Regions from separate parts of the Homo sapiens genome. Here regions 2, 3 and 4 are each linked to region 1. The links are contacts of gene promoters, found by promoter capture Hi-C in blood cells and fetal thymus (Javierre and others, 2016). All regions are on one chromosome and are shown on one strand. The core of a region is centred on a gene start or on the middle of the fragment in contact, and the rest is flanking DNA. Distances in the headings are between cores, read along the strand shown.

What was found. The method cuts DNA at HindIII sites, captures the fragments that hold promoters and counts their contacts. A CHiCAGO score of 5 or more calls a contact.
Region 2: a fragment that was not itself captured here is called in contact with the fragment with the promoter of CASD1 in region 1 in 1 of 17 cell types (naive CD8 T cells); the score reaches 8.2 in naive CD8 T cells.
Region 3: a fragment that was not itself captured here is called in contact with the fragment with the promoter of CASD1 in region 1 in 3 of 17 cell types (total CD4 T cells, non-activated CD4 T cells and total CD8 T cells); the score reaches 6.5 in total CD4 T cells.
Region 4: the fragment with the promoter of KRIT1 here is called in contact with the fragment with the promoter of CASD1 in region 1 in 1 of 17 cell types (naive CD8 T cells); the score reaches 5.1 in naive CD8 T cells.

What each region holds. Positions count from the first base shown.
Region 1 is chr7:94,505,857-94,513,592 of GRCh38, reverse strand. CASD1 (CAS1 domain sialic acid O acetyltransferase 1) reads right to left here and starts at 3,784. Exons shown (of 18, transcript NM_022900.5): 1 at 3,376-3,784. The coding sequence starts at 3,508. RefSeq lists silencers at 3,121-3,480, 3,581-3,730, 3,771-3,990 and enhancers at 2,524-3,510, 3,511-4,499. The HindIII fragment of the contact is 8,005 bases long and covers 1,039-7,736 here.
Region 2 is chr7:91,880,593-91,888,328 of GRCh38, reverse strand. LOC112267986 (a long non-coding RNA gene) reads right to left here and starts at 7,527. Exons shown (of 2, transcript XR_002956514.2): 1 at 7,465-7,527; 2 at 1,849-2,713. It overlaps MTERF1 (mitochondrial transcription termination factor 1), which reads left to right and starts at 7,627. Exons shown (of 3, transcript NM_006980.5): 1 at 7,627-7,672. The HindIII fragment of the contact is 4,536 bases long and covers 2,335-6,870 here.
Region 3 is chr7:97,113,003-97,120,738 of GRCh38, reverse strand. It overlaps SDHAF3 (succinate dehydrogenase complex assembly factor 3), which reads right to left and starts at 3,041. Exons shown (of 2, transcript NM_020186.3): 1 at 2,842-3,041. The coding sequence starts at 3,015. RefSeq lists enhancers at 2,864-2,953, 3,304-3,383. The HindIII fragment of the contact is 1,525 bases long and covers 1,876-3,400 here.
Region 4 is chr7:92,242,299-92,250,034 of GRCh38, reverse strand. It overlaps KRIT1 (KRIT1 ankyrin repeat containing), which reads left to right and starts at 4,121. Exons shown (of 19, transcript NM_194454.3): 1 at 4,121-4,245; 2 at 4,864-5,133; 3 at 5,886-6,033. It overlaps ANKIB1 (ankyrin repeat and IBR domain containing 1), which reads right to left and starts at 4,061. Exons shown (of 20, transcript NM_019004.2): 1 at 3,516-4,061. RefSeq lists a silencer at 3,626-4,015 and an enhancer at 3,946-4,240. The HindIII fragment of the contact is 4,029 bases long and covers 2,654-6,682 here.

The DNA.
Region 1 (7,736 bases), core at 2,535-5,034:
TGCTGTGGGTGTGACATTTGAACCAGGCCTTGAAGGAAAAACCTATATTTTCTTTCAAGAGAGAAGTCACTGCAGGCAGAGAAAATCAAATAACTGTGAGACGTATAAACGGGCAAAGCACGTTTAGATTGTGAACCTGGAATTTGGGGAAAATAAGGAAAAAACATAGGTAACAAAAAGTAGGCTCAGGTCAGATTTTGAAGCTTTACACAAACAACTTTTAGAAAATTACCTCCTGACTGGAAAAAAAAATAGAAAAACTCTTAGCTGGTACAATAAAGTTGATTTTTTTTTTTTTTTTTTTTGGGATGCGATCTTGGCTCACTGCAACCTCTGCCTCCTGGGTTCAAGTGATTCTCCCTGCCTCAGCCTCCTGAGCAGCTGGGATTCAGGTGCCCGCCACCACGCCCAGCTAATTGAAGAAGAAGAGGTTTCACCATGTTGGCCACGCTGGTCTTGAACTCCTGACCTCAGGTGATCCACCCGCCTCAGCCTCCCAAAGTGCTGGGATTATAGGCGTGAGCCACTGCGCCCGGCCTGAATTACTGTTTCTAAGTTGTTTAACCCATGCTTCCCTGGAAAATGCTTTCTCCCTCTATCTTCTATACTCCCCACTGTCTAAGAAGTTCTGAGAAAGACAGACTGTAACATAAGGCATGAGACAGACTAACTGGGATCTAAATCCTAGCTCAGTCACTGTGTATCCTTAGGCAATTTAATCTGTCATGCTTCATATTTAAAATGGAAATAATACTGTAATTCACTGAATCTAAGACCACTGATTATTAGACACATGATTATTTTATGTCACAGTAAGAAAAAAATGTTACCAATTAAACTTTGACATGCAATCAAAGTTTTAAAGACTCACCCTGATTACAAAGATGTTAAAAATAGTGGAGAGGAGTGAAATATGGTAATTGTATCTACCTCATAGAATGGTTATAAAGACAAAATGAGTTAAAACATGTAAAACCTTTAGTAGAACAGTCCCTGACATATAAGTGCTCAACGTTAGCACACAGTATTCGCCAAGCTTTACTTTCTGTAGTGGGTAATTCTTTCCTTTACTTTCGGTAGTTTGTAAAGCAAGAGATACTGAATATGTATATCCAAACTGCATTCACTCTACCTTGCCTCAGCACACTCATACTCACACATTCAAAATCCAAATACACAGCCTAATCTCCTTCATCTAATGTAAGATCCTTTCTTATTCTAAAGCAAGATTTTCCAAGCCATGGCCTGGGCTGCTGGAGGCCCAGGATGGCTTTGAATGCAGCCCAAATTCGTAAACCTTCTTTAAATGATACGAGATTTTTTGCAATTTTTTTTAAGCTCATCAGCTATCATGAGTGTTAATATTATGTGTGGCCCAAAGACAGTTCTTCTTCTTCCAATGGGGCCCACGGAAGCCAAAAGATTGGCCACCTCTGTCCTAAAGAGTTATAATGTGAGTCAAATGTATGATTATCTTTGTGTGAAGGGCATTGCACCTGACTCAGTTTGATACTGCCAAAGCATGAGGATATTCCTGGTAAGATGTTTATTTTTCCCAGTCTTCAGCTCAAATTCTTGACATTCAGTCTGGGCAAGTACACTCACCAGGTGTATGCTTCACACTCAAGGCACTGAAGTACCTATGGAAACTGATGACTTACTTCTGGAGAAGGCTTTATAAACAATCCCAGATTGCTACACTGACTCATAAGTCCCCATCTGACATTCTATTCTCCCTGCTGATGACAGATCTTGATAAGATGAAATCTATAATCTAAAAATAATAGTAGTCCAAGGTTATCAAAAGATAAAAAGCACAAAAAAATAAAAGGAAGGGGACTAGATGTTTATTTATCTTAGGACAATAGTACTGTAGTTATAAAATTTCTCTCTACTACCATTACATAAATTGAATTAAATTACTGTTCTTTTATACCAAATTGGCATAAAATGATTAATAGTAGTTAAAAGAAATATTTCCTCAAAACCACCACAAATCAATGCATCAACATTGCTAGTTTTACATGATTGTAGATAAACCAAGGCCTTGCAAGGTCGTATGGCTGTGATCTGGAGAGAGCTGGAGAGAGGCCAAAAGGTTATAAAGAATCTAATTTTTAAAATCAATTTAGTATACTAAAAGCTGTTCACCCAGTATGGCTCTAGAGTACAATATTTTTAATTCTCAAGAGTTGGAAGAAATAAAGCAGCAAAACTGACCAAAATTGAAAGATCTCCTGGGATGAGAATACAGCGCAGACTCCAACAACCCGTTTATGGATATTTTGCCAAAGTAGGTGTAAATTTAAACGGGCACAGCGCTAATTTGCACCTGTCCATTACACATTACATCTTGACTGATTAATCTCACAGTCACCAAGAGCTGGCCAGATAATGGCTTTGATAGTATTAAGAGCCAAAAATAAAAGATCCTATCATTATTAATTTCCCTCTGCCTGTCAGCCTCTCTCCCAGTGACATTTTTACAAAGGAAAAAAAACAATCAATCAGCAAGGAGAAGTAAATATCCCTTGATTACTGAAAGATAATTCATTCTCAAATCAGGTCATATTTCCTTTTCCCCTTTACACCAATTTCAAAACCCATGGCCAAGGCCTGCTTTCAAAGTGCTTACAACTTGCTTTCAACTGCCCACCTTTACGCCTGTCAACCCACAACTTCCTTCCAAAAATCTGCTCTGGTGCCTTAACTTTGTAAAAAGTGTGCACTCCGAAGCCTTTAAACGTTTCTGCATCACAAAAGCTGGGTGGCACCTCTTCCATTTGGCCACAGGCATCTTTTGCCAGCTGTCGCCCTTTTGGCAAAGGAAAATGGGGGCGGCCCTTGCCGCTGTCCAACAGCCCAGACTGGGTGTTACAGGGCAGAGGCAAAATTAAACAAAGGCTAAGGAGCCGGACCCTTAAGAGGCAGGACCTGCGACCCCACTGCTGGCAGCGGTGCCCCTTGCAGGGCGGCCTTGGGCTTCATGCGCCCCGGGCTGCCCCCAAGGACCGCCTGTCCGACTTCCTGCACGCGAGCCCCTGATCTGGAGCGTCTCCCCGAACCCAGACCGCTCAGGAGCCGGACCTCAGCAGCACTTTTGGCCAGGTCCAGGGTTGGCGCCCCCGACCCCAGCGCGGGCGGCTCGGGGCGCCCAGAACCACCAGCCATTGTCCTTTGGTGGCCCCCACTGGGGTCCACTCAGTTGGCCTCGGGCGCCGGCCGCTGCTGGGGACACCTGGGGGAACCGCCTCCCCCGCGGGCCGGGCCGGCGGAAGGCCGCGTGGGCGTGTGTTGGGCGATGGGGGCGGCCTCCAGCCGCCGCGTCGCCGCCTCCCCCACGGCCTGCCCGGGCAGAGGGGAGGGCCCGCTCACCTCGGTAGCGGCGGGAGGCGAGGTGGCACGCTGCGAGCAGCAGCACGGCCACCAGCGCCAGCACCTTGGCGCTCCTCACGCTGAAGTAGTGGTTGATCTCCCGCTTGCCCAGGTTGTAGGCCAGAGCCGCCATCTTGGTTCCTCCATGACAACAGTGCGCGGCGGAGCGGGAAAGGGGCGCCGCACAGGGGCAGCACTGGGGCTGCCGCCGCTGCAGCCAGGCGAGGAGCGGCCGCCAGCTCCCCAGGCCGCCACCTGCGCCTCCCGCCGGGGAACCTGACCCCGCGGCCGCGGCGCCCCCGACCTCCGCCTGCCCCTCCTCGGCCGCGGCCGACTCGGCGGCCTCCCCCCAGCCCCGCCGCCGCTGCTCCGCCGTGCCGGTTCCCCAGGCGCCCTGGACGCCTGTCTCCTCCCCTTCCTCCTCCTCTTTAGCCTCCTGCCTTAATAGCGGCTGCGCCTGCGAGGGGGGTCCGGATGCCCAGTGCTCCGGGGTCACCGGGTCACGCGCCCCGGCGGGCGGCGGCGGCTGCGGCAGAGCCATGGGGGTGTGGGGAGAGAGTACTAGGGGTACCCGCCTGGCCCGGACGCGAGCCTTAGGGCTGTCTCCTAGTTTACTGGCCGCTACCTGAGCCCAGGTTGGGGCAATAGAACTACAGTTCCGGGAGAAAAGTACACATCGTCCCATTCCTTCCTTCCCCAACACTCCCCTTTCTCAGCCTTCTACTGCCAGAACCCGCCCAGCGGGATGCGAAGGACACCCTAAGGTCGTTTATTGTCTGGCTATCCGTGGCCTGGCTGGTCAGTCTGGCTGCCCCTGGGTGCTGGCCAGATTGGATTGATGGATCCAGTTGATGGTGCTGGCCGATGGATTGCTGGCATCCAACCCAGGAGTGAAACCAGTCTTAACACTTAACTCACCGCTCTGGCCAGTTTCTCTTAAACCGTTTTTTTAATGTCCTCAGTTTGCCCAGTTCTGGTGGGCGAAAGTACACCAAAGTTCCGAATGGAAGGTACAGAAGGAGCCTAACTTAGTGTAGGTGTTGATGAGAAAAGAGTCTGACTCTCACTTGTATTTACGCAAGTTTGGCTAGGTCGATGTGCCAAAAAAATTCGTTTTTTTTGAGAGGGAGTCTCACCCTGTCGCCCAAGCTCTAGTGCAGTGGCGTGATCTTCGCTCACTGCAGCCTCCCCCTCCTGGGTTCAAATGGTTGTCCTGCCTGAGCCTGCCGAGTAGCAGAGATTGCAGGCGCCCGCCACCACACCCGTTTAATTTTTGTATTTTAATAGAGACGGGGGTTTCACCATTTTGGTCAGGCTGGTCTCGAACTCCTGACCTCAAATGATCTGCCCATCTCGGCCTCCCAAAGTGCTGGGATTACAGGCATGAGCCACCAAGCCTAGCCAAAAAAAATTTTTCTTAATGTGCTTATGACAATCATCCCCGCTACTAACGTTGGTTAATGTTTTGTGATTCTCAATAAAGCCAGCACTCCATTTCCTTAATAAAGCATTGTTATCCCTACTCTCCTCTCGCTCCCACCCCACCTTTTTTAAATGGTTTTTCTTGTTGCCTTCCAGATGGGAATGGTTATTTACATTGCTTGCCATTCTACTTGCCTTGCCTTGTTTAGAGTGAGTCATTGTTTAGTTGGGGTGTTGTCAAGTATTCTTTACAACTTTCCCATTTAGCCATTCCTGAACTTGTGCTTATAGGCCCCTCTTAAAATTATAGAATATTAGATATGAAGGGACTGTAGAGATCTTGTCTACTCATTCCCATTCTCTTCATCCAAGGACTCTTTATTATGTTTTCATCCATGGACTTTATATCTTGAAAGATTTTGTCACTTAAATGAAATCACATACATCACTGTCATGGATGTAATGCTAATAAGCAATAAAGTTAAATAAGTGTACAAACACTTAGGCACTGTTCCCTGCAAATAGTCTTTTAATTTTGGCTGTCATTCTGATCAGAGGTTGATCACATGTTGTAAGAATTGGGTATTGTAAAAACCAGATAACTCTGCCAACAATATATGGTCTGCCAATCACATCCTAGACATTTCTATGATGTCATTACCAGCAAATTAGAATTTCTGATCAGCATGCAATAACCAGTGTTAACCCAAAGGGTTGAGTTAATGCCTGCAAAAAGTAAAGAAACTTGACATTCTATTAATTGCAATTTCCAGAAGGCTTTCTTAAATACTGTAAATAGCTTGTGAACCTCCTTTTTCTTCTCTCAAGTTTAAGGCCAATCTCTCTACCTCTGCTCTGAATCTTTTCTTATCCTCCTTTCTTGAGGGTGTTGATTCCTCCATCAGTTATCCCCATGCAAATCATTCTTTTTCTGTGTCTTCCAATTCTCCCTATCACCTTGCTGTTTGCCTTCCTCCAAAAAAAATTTTTTTTTAATGAAAAACACCCATGGACTCTGTTCCTGCATGTTTACCTCATCAACTCTTTCCTCCTCTGGCAAACATCTAGAAAGAGCAGTGTTGACTCTCTGCCTTCACTGGCTCAATTAGCATTCTCTCTTCAGCCATTTCATTGTTCTTCACCAAGGCTGTGTGGTATGACTACTTGTTAAATCCAAGGGACACTTTATATTCCTTATCTTCCTGGACCATTTTGTGGCACCTGACATTGTTGACCATTCTTCCTTATTTGGTATCCATCTAAAACAGAGCGGAGACTTTGTTTTCAGCCACTTCTTGCTGTTTTTAAGTGACCTTAGGATCACTTAGTCATTATTTAGTGGTCCCACCACTGCCATGGGATCACCTTCCTTATACACACGCGCGCGCACACACACACACACACACCTGATATGTCAGTCCATATTTATCTATCCTCATGCTGTAAGAACCATCTGCCTACTAGGATATCCTTCAGGTACCTAATATATATCATTTCCTAAACAAACTCATCACCTTCCTTCTCCTTTATCTACTTTCAACCTTTATGCCTAAGTTTTCATCATTAACCCAGCCGTCCAAGCAAGTGTTTGAGTCATCCTTGCTTTCTTCTAAATAACTCTCAACTGTGTTGCCCCCTCTCTATCCACTTGCTGTTACCTTGGTTAAGGGATGATTTCTTGCCTGCATTTCTTATCCTTTTACTCGTCTTTCTCAGGTCACTCGAAAATCCAACCCTACTGCCATTCTGCCATACCTCTTACCAGACAGAACTTTCTTAAATTAAAATCTCGTAATGTCATTTCCTGCTAAAAACTAGTTAGTGGCTCCACGTTTATTTCCTGACCCCTGAGCTATCCAGAATGTTTACTAATGCTCAGCATGTTACCTCACACCTTAATAATATTTTAAAAAGAGAGAGACAGAAACCATCTGACAGAAACTCTCTCAACCTATGCATTATTTTTATTTTTATTTTTATTTTTTGAGATGGAGTCTCACTCTGTCGCCCAAGCTAGAGTGCAGTGGTGTGATCTTGGCTCACTGCAACCTCTGCCTCCCAGGTTCAAATGATTCTCCTGCCTGTCTCCCGAGTAGCTGGGACTACAGGTGTGCACCACCACGCCTGGCTAATTTTTGTATGTTTAGTAGAGACGGGGTTTTACCGTGCTGGCCAGGCTGGCCTCCAACTCCTGACCTTAGGTGATCCACACGCCTCGGCCTCCCAAAGTGCTGGGATTACAGGCATGAGCCACAAAGCCGGCCCTATGTATTACTCTAAAACAAACTGCTACACTTTATCTTTTCCCTTCTGATTCAAAGAAAAATTCCTCCTCCCCTTTCCCAAAACTGTCACTCTCACCTGTGTGTATGATTATACCAATATCATTTCATTGAGAATCTGGTCTCCTAAGTTCCCCTTCCTTATTTCTACCTTTAATTTATCTCTCTTCATTGTTTGCCAAATTCATCCTATCTTCCTTAATGCACCACACAATCTCTCTTTTTTCACCACCAAACTTCTGAAGGAACAGTTTGTGGTTACTTTCCCCATTAAAAAAATTGTTTTTACTATTTTTCAGTTCTTTACATGAAAACTAACTTATGTCCCTACTACTTTACTTACTTAAACCACTCTTTCAAATGAGGGCCACATCCTAAATTACCAAATTCAACATATTTATCTTAGCTTTATCCTTCTTGGCTGTGCAGCTTTCTTGAAATATTTGCTTTATTCAAATCTCTCCTCTTACCTTTCTCATGCATCTCCGAAGATTCCTCTTCCTTTCTCAAAGCCCCTTTTTAAAAGCGCTTTTCAGGTTTCTCATTTGCCTACTTCTCTTCTTAGCAAACCTAAATTGTAAGTTGGCCTCAACTATCACTCCTGATCCACACGTGCAACCTGGCTTCTCATGGTCCTCTCATTTTCATATACCTAAG
Region 2 (7,736 bases), core at 3,353-5,852, 2.6 Mb after region 1:
CCGGGCACAGGCGCTCCTCACTTCCCAGACGATGGGCAGCCGGGCAGAGGCGCTCCCCACTTCCCAGACGGGGCGGCCGGGCAGAGGTGCTCCTCACATCACAGATGATGGGCGGCCAGGCAGAGGCGCTCCTCACTTCCCAGATGATGGGCGGCCGGGCAGAGGTGCTCCCCACCTCCCAGATGGGGCGGCCGGGCAGAGGTGCTCCCCACCTCCCAGATGGGGCGGCTGGGCAGAGGCGCTCCCCACTTCCCAGACGGGGCTGCCGGGCAGAGATGCTCCTCACTTTCCAGACGGGGCAGCTGCCGGGCAGAGGCGCTCCTCACCTCTCAGACGGGGCGGCCGGGCAGAGGCGCTCCTCACATCCCAGACAGGGTGGCGGCTGGGAAGAGGTGCTCCTCACTTTCCAGACAGGGCGGCCGGGCAGAGGTGCTCCCCACTTCCTAGACGGGGTGGCGGCTGGGCAGAGGCGCTCCCCACATCCCAGACAGGGTGGCCGGGCAGAGGCGCTCCTCACTTCCCAGACGGGGCGGCCGGGCAGAGGCGCTCCTCACATCCCAGATGGGGCGGCCGGGCAGAGGCGCTCCCCACTTCCCAGATGGGGTGGCGGCCGGGCAGAGGCGCTCCTCAGTTGCCAGATGGGGCTGCCAGTCAGAGGCGCTCCTTGCCTCCCAGGCGGGGTGGCGGCCGGGCAGAGGCGCTCCTCACATCCCAGATGGGGCGGCCGGGCAGAGGCGCTCCTCACTTCCCAGACAGGGCGGCCAGGCAGAGGCGGTCCTCACTTCCCATTTGGGGCAGCTGGGCAGAGGCACTCCTCACTTCCCAGACAGGGCGGCCGGGCAGAGGCGCTCCTCACATCCCAGATGATGGGTGGCCAGGCAGAGACGCTCCTCACTTCCTAGACGGGTTGGCGGCTGGGCAGAGGCGCTCCTCACTTCCTAGACGGGGCAGCTGGGCAGAGGGGCTCCTCATATCCCAGACGATGGGCGGTCAGGCAGAGACGCTGCTCACTTCCTAGACGGGGTGGCGGGCAGGCAGAGGCTATAATCTTAGCACTTTGGGATGCCAAGGCAGGCGGCTGGGAGGTGGAGGTTGTAGCGAGCTGAGATCACACCACTGCACTCCAGCCTGGACAACATTGAGCGTTGAGTGAGCGAGACTCCGTCTGCAATCCCAGCACCTCGGGAGGCTGAGGGGGGCAGATCACCCGAGGCCAGGAGCTGGAGACCAGCCCGGTCAACACAGTGAAACCCCGTCTCCACCAAAAATACAAAAATCAGTCAGAAGTGGTGGTGCGTGCCTGGAATCCCAGGCACTCAGCAGGCCGAGGCAGGAGAATCATGGGAGCCTGAGGCAGAGAGGTTGCAGTGAGCCGAGATCATGGCAGTACAGTCCAGGCTCGGCAAGAGAGGGAGACGTAGAAAGAGAGGGAGAGAGAGAGGGAGACAGGGAGGGGCAGGGGGAGGGGGAGGGAGAGGGAGAGGGAGAGGGAGAGGGAGAGGAGGAAAATTCTTAAATCAGGCTGAAACCTACTTTCCTTTCTTCATATCAACACTTAAGTTAGATAATCACAACAGACTTTGAGTAATATCTTCCACAACTGGAATGCAGTCATTCAAAAATGATAATAAAAGATTACTTTATAATTTAGTATATGATAAAGTAGTATTTCAAAGCAAAGGGGAAATAAATACTATTCATTAAATGATGTTAGGACAATTGACCAGCCATTCTGAAAAGAAACAAAAATAAATTTCTACTTCATTTCTCATTCCAAAATAAAATCCAGATGATTCAAAGATTTAAAGGAAAACCAAGAAAAATAATAATGAACGTACTGGAAGAAAATATATGTGCCTGAGCTTTATGAACTTGAAGTGTAAAGGACTTTTTAAGAACAAGGTGACTTCTCTATAAGCTTGAGGTGAAAAGGACTTTTTATACAATGAAGCATAATTTCAAATGCAGTATAAGCAAGGGCTTAAGAGTACAGGTTCTAGAAGCAATAGCTTGGGTTCAGATCCTGGTTTCACAAACATTAGCTTTATGATCCTGACATAATGCCATTGTTTGGATATTTGAGCCTCCAAACCTCATGTTGAAATTTGATCCTCGATGTTGGAGGTAGGGCATAATGGGAGGGATACAGGCTTGGTGCTATAATGAGTGAGTTGTCCCTCTTGGTTCCCATGAGAGCTGGTTGTTAAAAAGAGCATGGCATCCCCCATCCCTCACTTCTTCTCTTGCCACATGATCTTTGCATGCCCTTTTGCCTTTTACTGTGAGTAGAAGCAGCCTGAGGCTCTGCGTAGAAGCAAATGCTGGCACCAAGCTTCTTGTACAGCCTTGATATAGTTTGGATGTCCCCTCCAAATCCAGTGTTGAGATGTAATCCCCAGTGTTGGAGGTGGGGCCTGGAGGGAAGTGTTTGGGTCATGCGGGCAGATTCCTCATATTCTTGGTGCTGTCCTTGTAAGAGTAAGCTCTTGTGAGATCCTGTTGTTTAAAAGTGTGTGGCACCTCCTGTCTCCTGTTTGTTCCCTCTTGCCACATGAGACGCTTGCTCCCCCTTTGCCTTCCACCATGATTGTAAACTTCCTGAGGCCCTCACCAGAAGCTGAGAAGATGTCAGTGCCATGCTTCCTGTACAGCCTGCAGAACTGTGAGCCAATTGAACTTCTTTTCTTTATAAATTACTCAGCTTCAGGTAATCCTTTATAGCAACACAAAAATGGACGAAGACACACAGTCACTTAATTCATCTGAGCCTCAGTTTCATCTGCAAAACTATGATACCTGCCTCATAGGGTTGAATAAAAATATTCAATATACTCTATGGGTATATGTATATAGGCCATAGTCTGCTAAGACCTCCATTAAACTATAATGAGCTACTCACATATAACTGTAACTTAGCTTCAGTTACAGCTACACAATATGTCACCCACAATGCCTAAAATACTTAGTTTACATATTTTATTTATATTCTTTTGCTTTATATTCTTTCATATGTTCTGGAAGGATAGAAACCAAAATAATATAAATAAAATATAAATAGTGGTTATTTCTAGGTGATGGAATTATAAGTGAAATTATTATTTTTTTGCTCCTTTCTTCTTTATTTGTATTTTCTAACGTAAATTAAAGTATTATGTCTCCCCGAGTGTCAGCATAGCATTGTGAATACAGTCATAGACGCTGGAGCCTGACTTCTTAGGTTGCAATGCTGGCTCCCTTACTTACTACCTGCGTGAGCTTGGGGAAGCTACATAGTCTCTATCTCAGTTTCCCCATTTGTAAAATGGAGATAATATTACTTCCATTATACAACAAAATGAGTTAATAGAGGTGAAATGATTAGAATTGTGCATGGCAGATAGCATTACATAAATGTTTTCAAATATTATTTTTCTCTCCATGTACTTTCTCTTAAAATTCCTAGTTTTTGGATGTCTTTAATATAGTAATCAACAAATGAAGTTAGTTATATGTGAGTAGTTCACTATCGTTTTTAATGCAGGTCTTAGCACACTATGGCCCGTGGCCCAGCAGCCCCCAAGCTAAGAATGGTTTTTATACTTTTAATGGGTTGTGAAATATGGAAAGAAAAAAGAGAATTTGCAACAGAGACAGTATGTGACCCACAAAGCCTGAAATACTATTTGGTCCTTTATAGGAAAAGGTTGCTGACCTTTGGCTTAATATGCTTTCCCTTTCAAATACATTTGCAATTTTAAATCAGCACAGTTTATACCAAGGACTAAATCTCTAAAGGAGGAATTTCAAGAAACGCCTTAAATAGAAAGGAAAATAGTTTTCGACAGTGAAAATAGTATTTCATCTTGTGAATGTTTGCTCCCCTCCTCTCTGTTGAGACTAATTTTTCTACCAATGACTAAGAATCATTTCACGGTAATTAATTGAAGGTTTGGTACAGTAGGATCAAACAATCCAAAAGGTACTTAAACTCACCAGGCTAAATAGCATCTCAAATGATTATTGTGTTTCTCTTGGCCAACTCTGTCAGGCTGATCCAACTACCATGGGAATTGCTGTCATATCAGGTCTGGAATCAGCAAATTTGCTAGGCTAAGTATCCAGTTCTTTGCCACAGACCCTTGTGGTAATGAGTGTGGGAGCATGAAAGCTGACTCAGGAAGTCTTTAGGCACACTTCAGAGAAATAAAGTTGCCTGAAGTAAAATCTTTAGAAATCTTAAATTGTTAAAAAGCAATTGTGAAAAGGGGGGAAATTAAGCAATCTTTTTTATTTTTTGCCAACAAAGTGTTAACCTGAGACTCTCTGGGTAACTTTATCTACCACTTTAATTAGCCTTGAACAACTGGGAGACATTTTATGCTTTTGGCAACCAAAACAGCTGCAGGCAAGAGAATGGAATAAGGGAGTCCTGGGTAGAGACCTGATGGTCCTCTGAGGGCCCTCAAGTAAGTCACATAGGAAGCTAGCAGGTCTGTCTGTGAAGTTGATGTGGGGGTGGGGCAGGCATTTGTCTACTGAATCCAGGAGTCTGCGGGTGTTGTATCAACTGAAGGTAAGAGTGGGAGGAATGAAGGGCCACTTTCTTTTTGACCTTAATTGGGCTTGCTGAGATTCAAACATGAATGAATGGTCAATTGAGGGGCTGTGGTTTGCCAGAAATCTATTTGCATAAAGCAAGAAGGACACTTCCAGGGCAGAGGAACAGGCACATTTGGCACAGTCAAAAAATTCTTAATTATAAAAGGCAGAGGCACTTCTGAATACAGCACAGATTCTGTCTTCAGACTTGACTTTCAGCCCAGCTTCTGAGTATCTAAGTCCAACGTGTTGGGATTACAGGTGTGAATCACTACACTCAGCCACTTTATTTTTCTTAATTACATCAACTTGGTAGGGACATGGGTCTGCTATGGTCCTGGGGAAGGAGATGGAAGAGGCATGTAGAGGAGAAGACATTCAGGCTGAGAGTAAGACCTGCCACTAGAAATAAGGTCCAGGAAGGCAGGGGCTTTGTCTTGGTTTCCACTATGTCCCCTAACTTGAAAACAGGGCCTGGAATGTGAAGGTGCTGAAAAAATGTTCATTGAATAAACAAATGAAATACAGGCAAAGTATATACAGGTCCTATTGTAAAACATCATAAAGGACGATGAGGCAGTAGTCATTTCTCTTACTGGAGGTAATGACATTTCAAAAATCACTGAAGAAATACAATAAGAAAGAAACCTAATTAATTATACAACATCCTAACCCAACCATTATTACACTTCTATTGTTATACTTTCAGTATTTTATAATATGCAATTAAAATAGATTTATAATCAGAAAATTTCTGATGGGAAATATGGAACTTATTTTCAAAAGAACCAATCTGCCTTTACCGACAAAATATCACTAAAAACCAACATAGGTGATGTTACCTAAGTAAGTCTGAAATAATTATTGATAGCTAAATCAATACAACAAAGTATGTGGTATAAATCTTAGAGTTACTGGTAAAGAAAATATAAGACATGCATTCTCTTGCTAGTTCCTACTGTATGGGTTTCAGTGTTCTCATTTGTAAAATGAGAGGGCTGGGGCTCAATAATCTCAAAGGTTATTTTATTTAATTTAATCTCTAAATTTTATTTTACATGCCGATTGTAAAGCAGTTTGTGTGTGTGTATATACATAATATATAATAATATTAATTCAGACATAGGAGCTCCTTCCATGCAGAAGGAATATAGATTTTAGAAATTCACATTTTAAAAGCCATCTCCAATTTTTTGGGACTAATTTTTACCTGGAGGAATTGCAGTAAGTAGTTTACTTAATAGATAGACTGATTATTAGTATTTTAAATTCCCAAAGATAAATCTTTATCCTTCTAAACCAACAAAACAGAGAGTTAATTAAAAACAAAGTGACAACAACAACCCAACTAGGAGTAGTCAAAGGGGAAGAGTGATGGTAAAACGTAATTGGTTCATTGGCATAGAAATGGGATAAACACGCCGGGTGCGGTAGCTCACGCCTGTAATCCCAACACTTTGGGAGGCCGAGGTGGGTGGATCATGAGGTCAGGAGATCGAGACCATCCTGGCCAACATGGTGAAACCCCGTATCTACTAAAATACAAAAAAACAAAAAAACAAAAAACAAAACAAAAAAATTGCCGGGCATGGTGGCACGCGCCTGTACTCCCAGCTACTCGGGAGGCTGAGGCAGGGGAATCGCTTGAACCCGGGAGGCAGAGGTTGTAGTGAGCCGAGATCGCGCCATTGCACTCCAGCCTGGCAACAGAGTGAGACTCCGTCTAAAGGAAAAAAAAAAAAAAAAAAGAAAAAGGAGAAAGAAATGGGATAAAGAAAATTCTTTTTCTTTCTTGAGACAAGGTTCACTGTGTCACCCAGGCTAGAGTGTAGTGGCACAATCACGGCTCACTGCAGCCTCAACCTCCCAGGCTCAGGTGATTCTCCCACCTTAGCCTCCCAAGTAGCTGGGACTACAGGCACCTGTGACCACGCCTGGCTAATGTTTGTACTTTTTGTAGAGATGGGGTTTCACCATGTTGGCCAGGCTGGTCTCGAACTCCTGGCCTCAAGCCATCCTCCCGCCTTGGCCTCCCAAAGTGCTGGGATTACAGGCATGAGCCATCGCGCCCGGCCAGAAAATTACATCATTAGGCTTGTACATGGAGGAGTTAGTAATGCCTGAAATTTTTCCTCTTTGTAGAATTCAGGGTCAATCCTGTTGATCCTGTGTTTTTTTAAGGACCAAATCACCATCGTCTCCTGAGGATAACTCGACAGACACAATTAATTCATTAATGTAGATATTATCTTTCTTTTGATGGTCACAGGAGAAGTGCCTTGAATTGAAGCTTTATCTCTTCCATTGTCACCATCACTAGGCAGGTGAGGCTGACAGGACCGCGTGGCTTAAGGCAACGCCTCGGGAGGGAGCAAAAATGCATCCACTGTGGAGATGAGGTTTCGGTTGCCTCCATTCTTTAAATAGCGCAAACCCTCACAATGTCAAAAGAATCATATTTGAATTCGAACTGCAAGTAAGGAAATCGAAGTATACTAGAATTGATTTCCAGCCTGAAGGCGGATGCTGAATTCAGACCAGCAGTGACACTCCAGGATTTCCACGGTAGTTCATTAAAGGAGGAGAATCTGGGACTAAACAGACAGAGTCTACACCCGCTTATCCTGCACCAAAAAACGCCGAGATGTTCATCGGCATCGCGTTAGTCACATTAGCAGCAGCAATCGCATTATCAAAAACTGCAACACGCATGTAAATAATAGCTACTTTTCCACCACGTGTCGTCGGCCGGCAGTGGATGCCCCCTGTAGGATCCCTATAAGATGCCTTACAGTTCCCCACGGACATCTGCCCAGGCGACTGGGAGTCCCAGGCCCCACCCCACCCTCCAAACCCCTTCTTTGGCGTTCAATACCCCGCGCTCACCGCGGTCTCTTGCTGCCCCCTGCCAGGCCCCTAGCGTCGGGCTGCGAAGGGCTGAAGTACCGCCACGAGGGGGCGCAGGACCAACGACATCACCTCTGCGCGCGACCCGAGGCCGGAAGTTAGTCTTTTCCACTTCCGCTCCTCCTAGCCGCTCCGGACCCCAGAGGCGGAAGTAAAAGCGAACTACAGTGGATGGGTGCAGTTCAGGGTGAGATTGGGAAGGTGGTGAGGCTGTGCTTTCCTTTCTTTTTGTTAAGAAGTGGGTGTGGGTG
Region 3 (7,736 bases), core at 1,389-3,888, 2.6 Mb before region 1:
AATTAAGTTTAGATGTGTGTGAGGGACTGGGATCGTGTAGACCAGACTCTACATATTAAGTTAGAAGTCCACAACAGTTACTCTTAGTTTGATGTAAACGTAACCATTAAGTTATATTCAAACAACAGGTGCCAAGTTTGTAATGAGCACTAACTGAAAAATAAAGGCATAAAAATCCATGTCATGTCTAGCAGTATCTAGTATAACATAATCATAAATTAGATATTTTGAAGAACAGGTGGGGGGGAAAAAGACTTGGAAGTCTTAAGTATATTACTCTCTGGTGATAAAACTTCTCTAGCCAGGTTTTTCTCCCCTCCAATCATTAGCATCTTCTCTAGCCCTACTCTTTCAAAAAGACCAGTTCTTCAAGTATCTTTCCTGGTAGGATCCAACCTACCACGTCTAACTCCCAGGCTTAGATTAAGCTGCCTTGTAACTGTGATAATTATGTTATACAAAGAGATTACTACGTTTAAATTTATCTTTACCCAGCTGCCAATTCATTAATTCCAGTAGATCAACAATGGTCGGGGAAGACAGGAAAACTGTTCTCTACAGACGCGTGTCAACTAATAAATTCAGAAGGAATGAGGGAAACAAAAGAGCCACCATTGGAACACAATGGCAAAATCCATCAATGAATGCTAAGACTAGTAATCATCTGAAAGCCTGAGAGTACCTACCCCCAAATATGTATTAATTTCAAAAGAGAAAATAGTAAGTTTACAGTAGAGACACCACGTGGATTATTACTTTAACCAAGTGATCACAGTTATCATCACCAGTAAGAAGTCATGTTAGTATCATGTGCCCTCTGACATTAAGTGTTGAGGCGAACACTTTGCCCATGTGGTATTCTTACTGAGATGTTATGAAATGCATAACATCAATTTAACCATGAGAAAACATCAGACAAACTCAAATTGAGATACATTCCACAAAGTAACAGACTAGTACTTTTCAAAAAAGTATCAAGGTAATGAAAGATAGGAAGACGGAGCAACTGTCACAGAATGGAGATTAAGGAAAAAGAATAACTAAATGCATTGTAGAATCCCCATTGGATCCTGGAACAGAATAAGGACATTAGTGAAAGGGCTGGCAAATTGTAAATAAAGTCTGTAGTTAACAGCATTGTAGCAATGTTAATTTCTTGTTTTTGATCACTGTACCCTGATTATGTAAGATGCTAACACAGGGGGAAACAGGATGTAGGGAACTCTCTACTGTCTTTCTAACTCTTCTGTATGTCTAAAATTATTCCAAGTTTTAAAAAGCTCAATCCCAGTTACCAAGCCTACTAGGTCAACTAACACATTTTTTATTTATGCAGTTCTTTTTTATACCCTCTCTCTCTCCTACAACCTATTATCAATTTTTTCTGAGTTGCTACTCTTTCCTACTTTTTCCCAAAGAGGCTTCCATGTGCTTACATTTTAAGACTTCTTAAAATAACCTTATTTCCTCCCAACAGAGAGCTACTCTCCTTCCTGTACGGCCACAAAATGACCTACCATAAAAGATGTAAAATACTTTAATACAGTATCTTATAGCTTCATAACAATTAGCAATACACAAGTGCTTGTAAATACATTTACATACGTAAATTTTGAGATGCATAAACACTTATTATTTTATAGATGAGAAAATAAGACTAGAAAAATTATGTGATCTGACACTTAAAATGTCAGAGACTGAATCTGAATCCAGTTCTTCAGGCTCCAAAACCAAATTACCTTATTAAAATAAAGTGCTCTGTGTCTGAAAAGCTTCAACTTCCCTGCTTCAGGCAAGCGAATTACATCAAATACACCATGATTTTCAAGAAAGTTCTAAATTTCCCGATTGTTCTAAATGTCGCTCTTAAAAGCTTCAATAATTATACAAAAAAGAATTCTGGAAGTCAGTGCAAAGTTTGTGTTCACCCTAACCATTCTTTTGATTTTTTTTTACAAAGCCGACTTCAGTCATCTCCCCTTCAACTATTTAGGCCGAAGAACCGCTTACCTCTATTTTCATATCAGCTCCAACTCATGCTTTCAAATATCTGAGCTGTCATTCCAATCTCTAATTCCATTCATTTATTTATATTTGCAAATGAAAACTAGGGGCAATCCTGCAGGGCCCCGAGCCCCACGAAATACTCTGAATATCTTTTTTCCTTTACTCAAAAAAAAAAAAAAAAAGTCAAACGACTTATTGCTAATGCATGTGTCTGTTTAATATTTAGCGCAATGGTGCAGGGCGAAGTAACAATGACTTGAGACCGGAGGAAACAACTTTCGCCTGACTTAACTGCCACCAGCATTTTTCTCCTTCACAGTTTGTAATCTCCAACCTTTTGTAATCTTTTTCATGTTACCTGATTTCTGTATCAGCCAAGTGAGAAAATTATTTAAACCCAACCAAAAGCGCTGAGATTAAATAATAAATTACGGAAATAAGCCTTTAAATTTGAAAACTAATAAGAGAACCATTAATTTATTAATGGGCGCTTACTAGGTGCAAAGGCACTTAAAAGGACAAAAAGCTCCTGAGGTTTTTGAGCACTTAACGACGACTTGCTCATTTTTGTGACCTCCTACCCTCACCCTTTGAGCACCTGGCATCTGCAGGAGCTCAAAAGTTGAACTGAATTGGGGACGCTGAAGTAACAGGATCTGCTCTAGTGAGAAACCCGTGGGAGAAACTTTGGAAAGTGTTACCTGAACAGCATTACGCTATTTCAAACAGAACAGGTTGCTGCTCTGTTTAACCCCGCATGGGGGACTGGAACTAGAAACCTGGACACCGAGGAACCCCAAAGGTCTTGGGCAAAGAGAAGGGAGCGTCACTTGCCTCCCATTCTTGCAAGAAACGCTGTGCCTCGTCAGAACCAACGGTCTTATGTCTCCTAAATTCGTCTTTCACGTACTGGTCGCCCAGGGATTTGAGGTCCGGGGGCAGAACACGGTGCAGCTGCAAGACGCGCTTGTACAATGCCCGGACTCGAGAAACGTGCCGCCCCGGCATAGCGCCCCACGCCGACCGCCGACTGCGCCTGCGCAGAGGGACGGCGCGTTCCCGCACTTCTGCGAACTTGCGTATTAGTGAACCGGAAGGCAGACGAAAGAGGGCGCGCGACCTCTATCCGGTTTGGTCCCTTGCACAATCAGGTCCTCCCGGAAACCCAAGCTCCGCTGCGGGCGGAAAACGGGTCGGTCCTTCTCTAGGAGGGGCGTGGCCCTCGTGGAGTCGCGCCTGCGCCTCGTCGTGGCTTCTTCTGGCCTGCGTCCTGACGACACAGGCCTTGAAAGAGAGAGGTCTGTGGTGGGCCGTTGTCATTTCTCAGTCCCACTCCACTGTCTTTTTCATTCAACTTCGTTTCTGTCCTCCTACCAAAGGCCTGAGAAAAGCTTCGTTAAGATCGGGCTCCTCCGGGATTCCTTCCATGGTTCCCAACCCATTTGAGGCATTTAGAGTATTACTGCACCCTGCTTTAGGGATCAGAGTGAGATTAATCTCGCCATCCACTAGCTCACCAACCCACGCTCTTTGCACAGCGCTGTTCTCCCAATTTATACTCTGGGCATGGGCTCTTCCTTGCAAACAACCCAAGTGAGCCCAGAGCTGGCGGACTCCTTAGCCAAAGTCAAGTTGGCTGCTGAAGGATCCTTGGGAAGAGTTTTAAACGTATTGTTTCCAGGACCACGACCCTGGAGATTCTGGTTAAATAGTCTAGGATAATAAGAACGAGGAATCTAGAAATTTACAAAGCTCTATCTTTTGCGAAGGTAATACTGAGAGTAGAACTGGTTTCCAAAGCTGGCAGCTCCTTGTGTTGTCCTTTCCTGTCACACGTTTGGTTCTTCAGCAAATCCTGATGGCGTCACCAACAAAAATGCAGAAATCAACCATTTCGCCCCATGTACTCTACCACAATCTCTCTCCACTGGATATTGTGTTAGCTTCCATATCTGTGTTCAGCTTCTGGTCATGACCAACTTTGGTCATGCTCCAACATAATTTAAATTAAATTTGGCCTAAAATTTCCTCCCTACTCTGAGTTGCTATGTAGGGAACTGCAACCTAACTTAGTATGTAAATTAACTGCAACTGAGAGTATATTCTTGTGACAAGTAGCTGAGCTTCAGCCAATCACAGGCTGCCAACTGATCAGACTATGTGCATATAAGGCAAATACGTCATAATGTCCTGCCCAAATAAGACTAGCCCAACTGTAAGCAATCAAGCTGTTTCTGTGGGGCACTTCCTTTTTCTGTCTATAAATACTGCCTGCCCACAGTGCTGGGTAGAGCTCTCTGAACCTCTCCCTGTTAAGTGCTGCTGCCTGATGAATGCCTCATAAATCGTGTGTGTGTGTGCACGTGCGCTCGTGCAAATAAACTTTATTAGATTTAACTTGTTTAAAGTTTTTCTTTTAACAATCTAAACTGTAAATCGGATCATTTCACTCCTCTGCTCAACAAAAGCCTCCAGGGATTTTCATCAGAGTAAAGCCCAGTCTCTAGCCCTTAAAGGTTTAAATTTTCTCCTATTGCTTTCTCCCTAGTTAGCCAGTTGCAGCCACACTGGCCTCCTAGCTCTTAGTTCATATTTTAAAAAGCCAGGTACACTCCCAACTGAGGCCTTGGCACTTGCTGTCCCGTCTACTTGGAGTGCTTTGCCAAATGTATCTTCCTGGCTAACACTTTTATTTCACTCAGCGCATACTTCAGGTCCCCTTCTAATGAGACCCTCCCTGGCAACCCTATTTGAAACCCTGCTTGAAGTTGCAACCTCACCAAACCAAGAATTTCTTATGCTCCTCCTCTGCTTTGTTTCTCTCTATATTACTTACATAATTTACTCATGTGCTTATTCTCCATTTATTATCCCCCAACTAGAGTACAAATTCTATAGGGGCAGGGATTTTGTGATTTGTTAGTGACCTGCACTAGGTCTGTAGTAAGCACTCAATAAATATCTGTTGAATTAATGTGTGAAACTCACTAACGGTGTCAGATGCCTCATATTCCTGCTGGTGAAGAAGAGGCAGAAATGTTGAAATTTGTGTGATTGTCTCACAGACCCCAGACTTCTTTCTGTGCAAAAACTTTCTGAAAGAAAAACAAGACACACTCAGCTACTGAAGGCAGGTACTTACTCATTTTAGTATCCTTTTCAGGGCCCACCACAGTGCCATACAAATAGTAAGTAGAATTTATTGCTTTGAATAGAGCTTCTCCTTTTGCTTAAATTTAGGGAAAATATGTGTTTTAAAAAACACAGAACTTTTTAAAAATGGATTTAATTTGGTATTATGACAAACTGCATTAATGGCAAGGATTGAATGGCAGCGTGGTTATTTTGCTTCAGGAAATTTTTTTCTAACCATACTTCATCTGTTAATATCCCTGTAAAATTGAAAATTGATTTCTTGTCCCCGTTTGTTTTTTTCTGGTTTCCTTTGGAGTTAAAGAACATGTGTAATAAATACCTCTTTCAAGAGCCAACACTCTTATAAAAATGTGAGAAAACATTCTGCCAATGAATTAATTAAAAAATAAAGGAATTAATTGAGCCTAAAGAGAGTAGAAAGGGTCCACAAAGCATTGGAGAATCAATGCTCAAAATGGCAGACGATGGGTGAAAGAGAAGCCAAGACATAGTGGTGTGGTTAGGCCTTGAGAAGTGGAATAAAGCAATAACAGTGAGAATAATGACAGTTAACCTTTATTTTATTTTTTTTACAACAAGCTGGACAGTGAGCTATGTTTTGAGGACAAAACTTTTCTCTGTTTCCCTGACCAATTTAGGCTGATCAGTGTTCCTCTTGTGGTAAAAATAGCCATGAACTGAAAATAAAATCACACTTATATTTCTGGCCACCAATCTAGATCACTACACTTCATGCAGACCTTTCCTTTATCCTTCCTTCATGTGTTTCTTTTTCTTATATGTTACTCTGCAAGTGATTTAACCGCTCTGTGCCCAGATTTTCTCACTTGTAAATGAGCTGGGTTAGGTAATTTGCAGTACTTTCCAACTTTACTAATCTCTAACCATGACTTCTCTCAGATTCCCTCCAAAATTTTTTGTAAAGTGAAAGAGAACATATATCCACTCTTAAATAATTGCTTTAAAAATTTTTTGTTTAGAAAAACGTGGGGTAAATGCCTTAAAATTGTATATGGAACACATCACCTAAGCCTTTCAGGGCACACAAAATATAATAACCACCTATAGCCATAGGGATGATCAACACAGCAACTGCACTATTCAGTGTATTGCTTCTGTGGACTACCTCACACACAGCTAGAAATGGAAGGAGGCAGCTAGGGACAATTTTTGGCAAGCAGATAGAGAATTTTGAGGTCAAAAGAGATGGAGAGAATTGGTAAATGAGGAAAAATAAATTAAAGGAGAAGAAATACCTGTATGGAGTGTACTGAATTTTCACTTTGTATTATACTCTAGTCTTTACTAAAATGTTGAAAATAAGACTTGCTTGCAAATAATGCTAAAGCATTTTTCTCTCAAACGGAAGTGAGAAAGGAGTGGGGAGGGGGAGAACTGATGACAAAAGATTTGGAAGCTGCTTTACATCATTAGATAAGAAAACAAGGTTTTTACAGTCTTGAATTCAGTTGCACAAGTGGCTCAGTTTTCAAATTATAGTTACTCAAATTTCAAGTTCTAAATTACTGAGAACAATGAAAAGTCTGGGACAAGATACATCTTCAACCCAAACAGCTCTCACATGCTTAGAGGCCTAGAGAGATGTACAAACCTGATCTGGCCATTGCGACTACCCATGGTCCCCCAAAACAACACCAGAAATTGTCTTTCATTTCCCACCTTACCTTGGAGTCTCAAAGTTAGGTACATCATTGTGTGACGATTAAAACTATAAAAAGAAAAGAATTCTTTAACGTTTTTAAATGGTATCTGGTATGTCTAATTATTGAAATGCAATGGTAAGATAGCAGATAGTCTTAAAACCAAAATTTCAAGCTTAAACATACTGTTCAAGGAATTAGAAAAGCAAATACATTCATGGAAAGTCCATTCTCTGAAAGTCAGTTTAGAAAGCATAATAGTCTTTAGCATTTTTCTGAATTTCTGAAACATGTTACATAAAAAATACCAGAGACGGGAGGCTGAGGCAGGAGAATGGCATGAAACAGGGAGGTGGAACTTGCAGTGAGCCGAGATTGCGCCACTGCACTCCAGCTTGGGTGACAGAGCGAGATACCGTCTCAAAAAAAAAAAAAAAAATCAAAGAGAAACTTAATGTGTTTGTATCTGGAGAGAAAAAGCAAACCATAAGGAATGTTTTTAAATGTTTATAATTGTTGATTACTGAGAACAGAAAATCAATCGAAAGTCCAGATAAAATGTTATATTTTATAATTTAAAGTATTAATGATATACTATAAGATATAAGGAGGAAAAAAATGACCATTGTTCATAAGCTGAAAAACATTTGACAAATTCAACACCCATTCCTGATTTTAAAATAATAATAATAGCCGGGTGTGGTGGCTCACGCCTGTAATCCCAGCACTTTGGGAGGCCGAGGTGGGTGGATCATGATGTCAGGAGTTCTAGACCATCCTGGCTAACACAGTGAAACCCCGTCTTTACTAAAAATACAAAAAATTAGCCGGGTGTGGTGGCGGGCACCTGTAGTCCCAGCTACTGGGGAGGCTGAGGCAGGAGAATCGCTTGAACCTGGGAGGCGGAGGTTG
Region 4 (7,736 bases), core at 2,872-5,371, 2.3 Mb after region 1:
AATTAAAAACTGTTAATGACTGTACGACAGCTTCTCCCCTTTAAGGACTGTAAGTCAAATCTTTTCGAGAATATTACAAGAAAAAAAAATCCAGTAATACTATACACAAGATTCTGTATGGCTTTTTATTATTAAAATAATTTAGTTTAGTTTATTCGCGTGTGGGGGGGGAGATCTTTAAATGGAGATAAAATATATTTTGGGACTGTTCTAAGGATTAAATGAGATAACGTATGTAAAGCACTTAGCATGGTGACTGGCACAAATTAGGCACTCAATAAATGGCATCTATTGTGCTTATTCTTTTTTTTTTTTGAGACAGAGTCTCACCCTGTCACCCAGGCTGGAGTGCAATGGTGCGATCTCAGCTCACTGCAACCTCCACCTCCCAGGTTAAAGTGATTCTCCTGCCTCCACCTCCCAAGTAGCTGGGATTACAGGGGCGTGCCACCACACCCAGCTAGTTTTTTGTATCTTTAGTAGAGACAGAGTTTCACCATGTTGGCCAGGCTGGTCTTGATCTCTTGACCTCATGATCTGTCCACCTCGGCCTCCCAAAGTGCTGGGATTACAGGCGTGAGCCACAGCACCCGGCCGCTTATTCTTATACACAGGATATGAAACAACCTTGCAACAGGGTCAAGTGGCTTAAAAACCTGTAAGAGAAGCCAATAAAGGCAGGTGAATAGAAATCACAGTCAAATATCTAGACTGGTAACCTCAATGAGGAAAGGAACCTTGACTAATTTACCCTGGTAGTTCCAGAACCTAATAAAAGTGCTTGGCACACACAGTAGATGCTCAACAAAGGTTTACTGAAATGAAGTGGACATGAAAGTATCTGGAAGGCCAGGCGCAGTGGCTGACACCCATAATCCCAACATTTTGGGAGGCCAAGGCAGGCGGATCACCTGAGTTCAGGAGTTTGAGACCAGCCTGGCCAACGTGGCAAAACCTCGTCTCTACTAAAAATACAAAAATTAGCCGGGTGTGGTGGCGGGCACCTGTAGTCCCAGCTACTTGGGAGGCTGACGCAGGAGAATCGTTTGACCCCAGGAGGCGGAGGTTGTACTGAGCTAAGATCACACCACTGCACTCCAGCCTTGGCAAGAGAATGAGACTCCATCTCAAAAAAAAAAAAAAAAAGAAAGAAAAGAAAAAAGAAAAAAAGTATCTGGAAAAGAAAGAGGCAGTCTGAGGTTATCTGAAAAATAAACTGAGAATCCAAAAATTACCATTCCCCCTAAGGAAGTCACTTTGAAAAGTAAATTAAAAACCTAAACATTTTTAGATCAATGTATAAAAACTCCCACAGACTGGTCTCTTTAATAATGACTTAGTCCACTCCCAAATCCTTTTTGGCAAATGTGTCAAATATTTGAAGGAAATATTTTAAAACTTAATCTAAATAAATGTCATATGCATCCTCAATGGGGGAAAAATTACCCAAAGCACTGAGGAATCTTTTCCAACTTCATTTCAAGGACATTCAGATTAACTTAATTCATAGTTCTTCCATCTACTTATATATGAAAATGAGCTCGCACTTTTATCTACAAGCAAGTTGTAAATACACATATTTCACTTTCACAAGTTTGAGTGCATACCCCAGAAAAGAAAGAGGAAAGAAAACCCACTCTTTGAGAAGTGGGCAGTGCCACAGGAGTACAAAAGAGTGGCTAACAAAACTTCCCTCCCATGTTTCAGGAGTCACCTACCTGTTAGAGCCCTTGTTTACAGCACAGTTGGCACAGTTTCAGACTCCTTACATATTGAAAACTCAAAATTCTCGGTGTAGTGGTCAAGGGAACAGTGAAATAGGAAAATATAGTTCTATCTTCCCCATCCTACCCCAAGGAAAAGAGAATCAACAACATTTTTTCTAAGACTTCTCCAAGATAGCGCCCATCACCTCACTATAGCACCCTACTCTTATTCAGAAACTGAACAATTTTACAGAAAGCAAAAGCCACACCCTTAATAATACACTCAACTCTGCACAGTGCTTGGCTTCTGTGCTAAGTACATTTCCAGAGACAGAGTTGGAGCTACATCTCCTGAGCCTACTTCAAATTAAAATCTGTGAACAGTGAGAAGTTACAAATCAGATAATAGCCCAAAATCAACTGCTGAAAGGAGGTTGGGGGGAAAAGTCATTAAACACATCCATCTTTCTTAATGAAATGACAATGTTTTTCAGCAACACAAAACACCAAAGCTACCAGTCTACACTACACAGTAGTTTGCAGAATGACAACCTGCAGTACACAGTAAAATTATTCTTAAATTATCGTTTGCTTCCTATGGTGCTCTGAAAAGTAGCAAATGCATAAAGTCATATAAGAGCTATTGTCCAATCACTGACAGCATTAAAATTATTTTTAAATCTAATTTCTGGAAAGTTCTGCAGGAGCAGTTTGAAAAGCAAATCAAATTCTAATGAGAAAAAACGCCTAGTTCAAAAATCTGAAAATATACTTTGAAGACATTCACAGTTTAAGCAGCAGGAGGGTCATAGGCACCAAGGTGTGTAACATCTGTGAGTGGCTGATACAAAAAAAGATTTCTCTGGAATTAATGATTGAAAATAATTATCAAATACAATCTAATATGATCTTTAAACGTCTGTCTCAAAAGCAACAAAGCAAAAGCTTGTAACAAAGCAAAACCTTCCAATACACAGATTTTTACACCTTACACATACCCACATACTTCACAAATTAAGAACTAGATGAAAATTAGAACACTAAAATTTAAAGGTATCTAAAATACACTATTTGAAACAGCAGACTCTTATCTTTACATTTATCTGTCAGATCTACCAGTAAAGCTCTTCTGAAATGGTCATTCCAATACAAGATTGTTCGATATGCCATTCCGTGTGAATAGAGCTTGGGAGACTAATTCTCAAAATCTCCTCAGGAGATGCTTTATTACAGCTCTAGTTTCAATTTCCTGCGACTCAAACAGCTACGTACAGAAAAACAGCTCATACATACGGAGAAGAATAAGAATACAGGGGAGCGCTCCATTCTTTTGTTTTGGTGGCAGAAGCTGCAAAAATAAAGGTTCACTGGAGCCATCTGCACCTATCCCCACCCATCACAGCCCTGCAGAGCACTTTTACCCATCCGCTTCTCAAGACTCTCTCTAGCCCCCGAGGTCGGCAGAACCCGTGGCTTTCCACGTCTCAAAGGATGGGGGTGGGGGGGAGGCTGCGAGGAAGGACACAGATCCTTTGAGGACAGAGGGACAAGGAGATGCATCCAGATGGGGAGGATGGGACGCGTCACGGAGACCCGGAGGCTTGCAAATTCGCTGGGAGAAAAGCCCTGTAGGGCAGAGAATGCTGCCTGTTCAGGGATGGGGACAGACAGAACAACAATGCTCCAAAACAGGCGACAGACACACTCCTAGTAGATCCGGGAGGGTGTGAAGTAGGTAGCTCTGAACTCGGAGCCACAAATGGGTAGAGGCAGCCTCAAACACATCTGTACCGCGAAGCTGAGACTTACGGTTACTTCTCTCGCTGAGGGTAAGGGTCGGTGGACCCAGCAACTCCGCAGTTCCGCCTCCGCCGCCCCTGCCTCTACAGCCGAGCTGGTGACCTCAGGTACCCAGCCCGCCCCACCCACCCGGACGGTTGCCCCTTCCTCGCCGGCCCGGGTGCACCCGCCAGGCGGAGGCTGATGTGGCCGAGGGTGCGCACTGGCGGCCCGCGGGAAGCGCTGCGTGAGCCGAAGGCGCCCGCGGCGAGGCTCAGACTGGGTGGGCGCCCCCCATCCCTCTCCGGCCGCTGCGCCGCCTCACTCGGGGGAGGGGAAGAGGGGGCGGTGGCTCTTGCCTCCGCCTCGCGGTCAAGCCCGGCTCATGTTCCAGCCTTGCGCGCTCGCAGCCCCGGCCGCCCTCTTCCCCTCCCCCGCCTCCGGCTCCGGCTCCGGCTCAGCCGCTGGCACCCCCACCGCCACCACCCTAGTCTCCTAGTCGCCTGCCACCAGCCCCTGAGAGACTGCAGGTCCAGTGAAAAGGAGCAGGAACGGCAGCAGCCCGGCCGCCGACCCGGAAGCTCTTTCACCGCCAACCGCGAGGCTGCAAAGGGTGTGAACCCGGAAGCGATTTCATAGCCACGGTAACGGCGGGGTGGAAAGCTAAGGCCTTTGAAGACCTGGGACCCCGTAGTTTCGGGAGAGGGTGAGGGGTGAATGGTGCTGAGGTGCGAGGAGAGGGAAGGACAGTAAAGAGCAGGTGGGCAGGAGGGTCTCCGACTCCAGAGACCTGAGCTTTTGGGGCGCGGGTGGGAGCGCGGGGGAACCCTCAAGACGGCTTTCTTTTGGCGACTGAGGGTTTTTCTGCCACAGGAAGCTGGGCCGGGCTGCTGTGCCTGGGAGGAGGGAAGGAGGAATGAGAAAGCGGTGACGGTCCCTGCCCCCCCTCGCCAGGTGACTGTCCCACCCATTTAGTTGAATGTAGCGGCCAGAGAGGCACTCGCGGCAGCCCGTACGGGTGGGACCTCTCGGTGTCCTTCGGGAAACAGGAGGAGCAAGTTCGACTCCAGCGAGGGAAAACGGAGGTGGGAGACTGAACCATCTCCACATCTAGTTGCCCCAGGCAAGGAGTTTATTTTTCACATGTAGTTACAGAGAAACCATAGCCACTTTTTGGGTGGAAACTCTTTGAGCAAAGAGGCTTACGTTTTTCCCCAGTAGTGGACGTTGACGGGTGGTGGCGCAGGAAAAAACCTCCCAGGCAGAGTGATTACGTATTTTTGTCATTGCAGGGAAAGGGATTCACAGCTTGTCATTCTAACTCACTTCTCCCCCTGTAACTCACTTCTCGCCTCTACACTTTTCTCCACCTTTTAAGGTTTTTGGCTTTCATCGCTTTTTCTACATGTTTTTAGCCTCACCAGAAGTCTTTCATCTCGGTGGTCCAACTCAGGATCTCAGCCTCATTATTTTCTTACCCTTCTGGAGTGCATATGTGCCTTTACAGTTTCTGTTTGCAAACGCTGTCTAGCATACTAAGAGGATGTTAGCAAACCTGTTCCATGGACACTAAATGGCAGTTGTACATCTCCCCTCATCAGTCATAGTGACAACCAGAAATGCCCTCCATATTTTCCAGTGATCCCAGGTAGGTGCCACCCCCCTAATTAAGGACCACTTCCACTGCTTTATTTATAAGATCTTATTACTTAGGGAGCATATTATCATTTGTGCCTAACATTTTCCAGAATGGAGTGAGCCATATAACAAAATGCCACGTTTCCTGTACTTATTCACTTGAACCCTCATCTCAGACTCAGTCTAAACATATTGCAAACTCTAGTTATACCTTTCTTGTATTTTAGTTCAAGCTACTCATTTTCTATCAGTTTGTCTGTGTTTCTCCCTTAGCAGTTTTACCTTCCTATGTTAGTTACTTTTGTTATTTTCCTGTTAAGCCTTTGTTTCCTTCTTTCATGTCACTGGAAGAATGTAGATTTTAAGTAGTCAAGTACGAATAGTTCTTGAAAATGAATTTTAAGAATATTTTGGGGATATGGTAAAAAAGTATTTGGTTTAAGAAAACAAAATACTGTTACTGTCATAGTTATGTCTTTTTAAAATCACATTTGTTTACCTTTTAAAAGTTCAGGCTTCTGTGCAGTATTAATTAAATATTCTAGAGAAGTGATGAGTATTGACAAAGTACTTTGCTAGTAAATGTTTTCTTAACATGAGTTGACCAAGACAGGAATTGATTTGCTTTAAATTGTCTTTAGAAAAGTAAGAGTTACTTGATTTTTCTTTTAGGTCCTTAATAGATAAAATGGTTTCTGTAATTGTGCCCATATATCATACAGTGTATTCACAATACAATGTCTTTCTTTTTGGGGCTTGCAGTCTTCAATGCGTCTGTCTCATAATTTGTAAACGTTTATTATCTTGAAGTCATTGTTAATCTGTGGTGAAAAGTAATTGCTAAATAGAAATTCTGAGAAGAAAAAGGCCTCATCCTTTTCACATGATGTAGGAAGGTCTGTTGCATGAGGTGGGTTTTAAGAATGATTTTATACAAAAAATTGAACTGAAAAAAATTTCATGAAGTATATAATGATAAAGAATGATAACGTCCTCAAAACCTTTCACACAATGAAATGTCTCTATCCTAATGTGTCACTGTATTTTTTTCTAGTGAAATATCTGTAGGGTTTTTTTGGATCTAAATCAATGGAAAGTTTTAGAATTTAAAATAAATTTGAAAAGTATTTAAATTATTTTATTTAAAATTTTTGTACAATAATTTTAATGGTTGTTTTAATCTTAGGCTAAAGTTTATGTAAAATGCCAAAAGCTACTGTATTTTAAAAGAATTTCTTCTTAGGGTAATTTTACAATCATAAGGCACTTTTTAATTATTATTTAGGGAAGTGAATTAAAAGTTACAGAGTGACATTTTCAGTTGCAGTGGAAGAAACAGGATAAATTACTCTATCGCCTCTCAAATAACATTCAAAACCCTTTCTTGAAAATGGTCTATCTTGAGAGTTGCAGCAGTAGGGAACTCATTAAATATGAACAGGTAATTTTAATGCCTAATGGTTTTTAAAAAACTGAAGAAAGTTCATCTCAACATAGCTGGGAAAGAAACTCTTTAATGTTCTTTTAGAAATTTACTGACAAATAAATGGGGAGAAGCTTTTTCAAAAAAAGATAAAAAATAATCAGTACAGAAAGATGCACTTTAGTGTAGCCATGAAAGAAATTTATTCAATGAAGAAAACTATTATACAACTAAGATTGTGGTTGAAATTCAGTCACTTGTTGGAAATTGCGCAATGGAGACTTAAGATTTAGTGGGACAAAGTATATGCATAACACACACGCACACACACACACAGTGAATATATTTGGAATAAAAAATTTGGATTATTGACAGGTGTGGTGGCTCACGCCTGTAATCCGAGCACTTTGGGAGGCCGAGGCAGGTGGATCACTTGAGGTCAGGAGTTTGAGACCAGCCTGGCCAACATGGTAAAACTCCATCTCTACTAAAAGACACAAAAATTAGCCGAGCATGGTGGCACACGCCTGTTAATTCTGGCTACTCAGGAGGCTGAGGCAGGAGGGAGAATCGCCTGAACCCGGGAGGCGAGGGTTGCATTGAGGCGAGATTGTCACTGCACTCTAGCCTAAGTGACAGAGCGAGACTCTGTCTAAAACAAAACAAAACAAAAATTTGGATTATCAAGGAAATTGATAAGGGAAATGGAAAAGATTCTTAAATCACCTTCAGAAAGCTTTTATCAACTGACCAAATAGTTTTGGTTCTGTGATAAGCAACTCCAAAGAAAATTACATACTACGCTTTAGCTCATCCAAATGTCTGATATCAAAGTTATCCTTGCTGAAAGTTCTGGAGTAAATGTCAATGGATATAAAACATCTACCATTTCCAGCTTCCAAACTGTTAACAGTATAACTAACATTCACTTTTGTAATTTATGGAAAAAGTGTATATTATTCTGAATCACTATTTCAAGTCATTATTTACAAGTTATTTTATAATCATCATCACTTTTTTTTGGCCCCAAAGGCAGATTCTTACTATGCAGTTAACACCTATGAAAATGTATAACCCTATTTTAAAATGAAAAAAGAAATACAAAGGAAATCTTAAATTATCAGCTAAGGTTTTGAGTAGTTGAACAGTAAAGATGCAGTCAAAGTCATTCCTGGCTTGCCTTTTAGGCA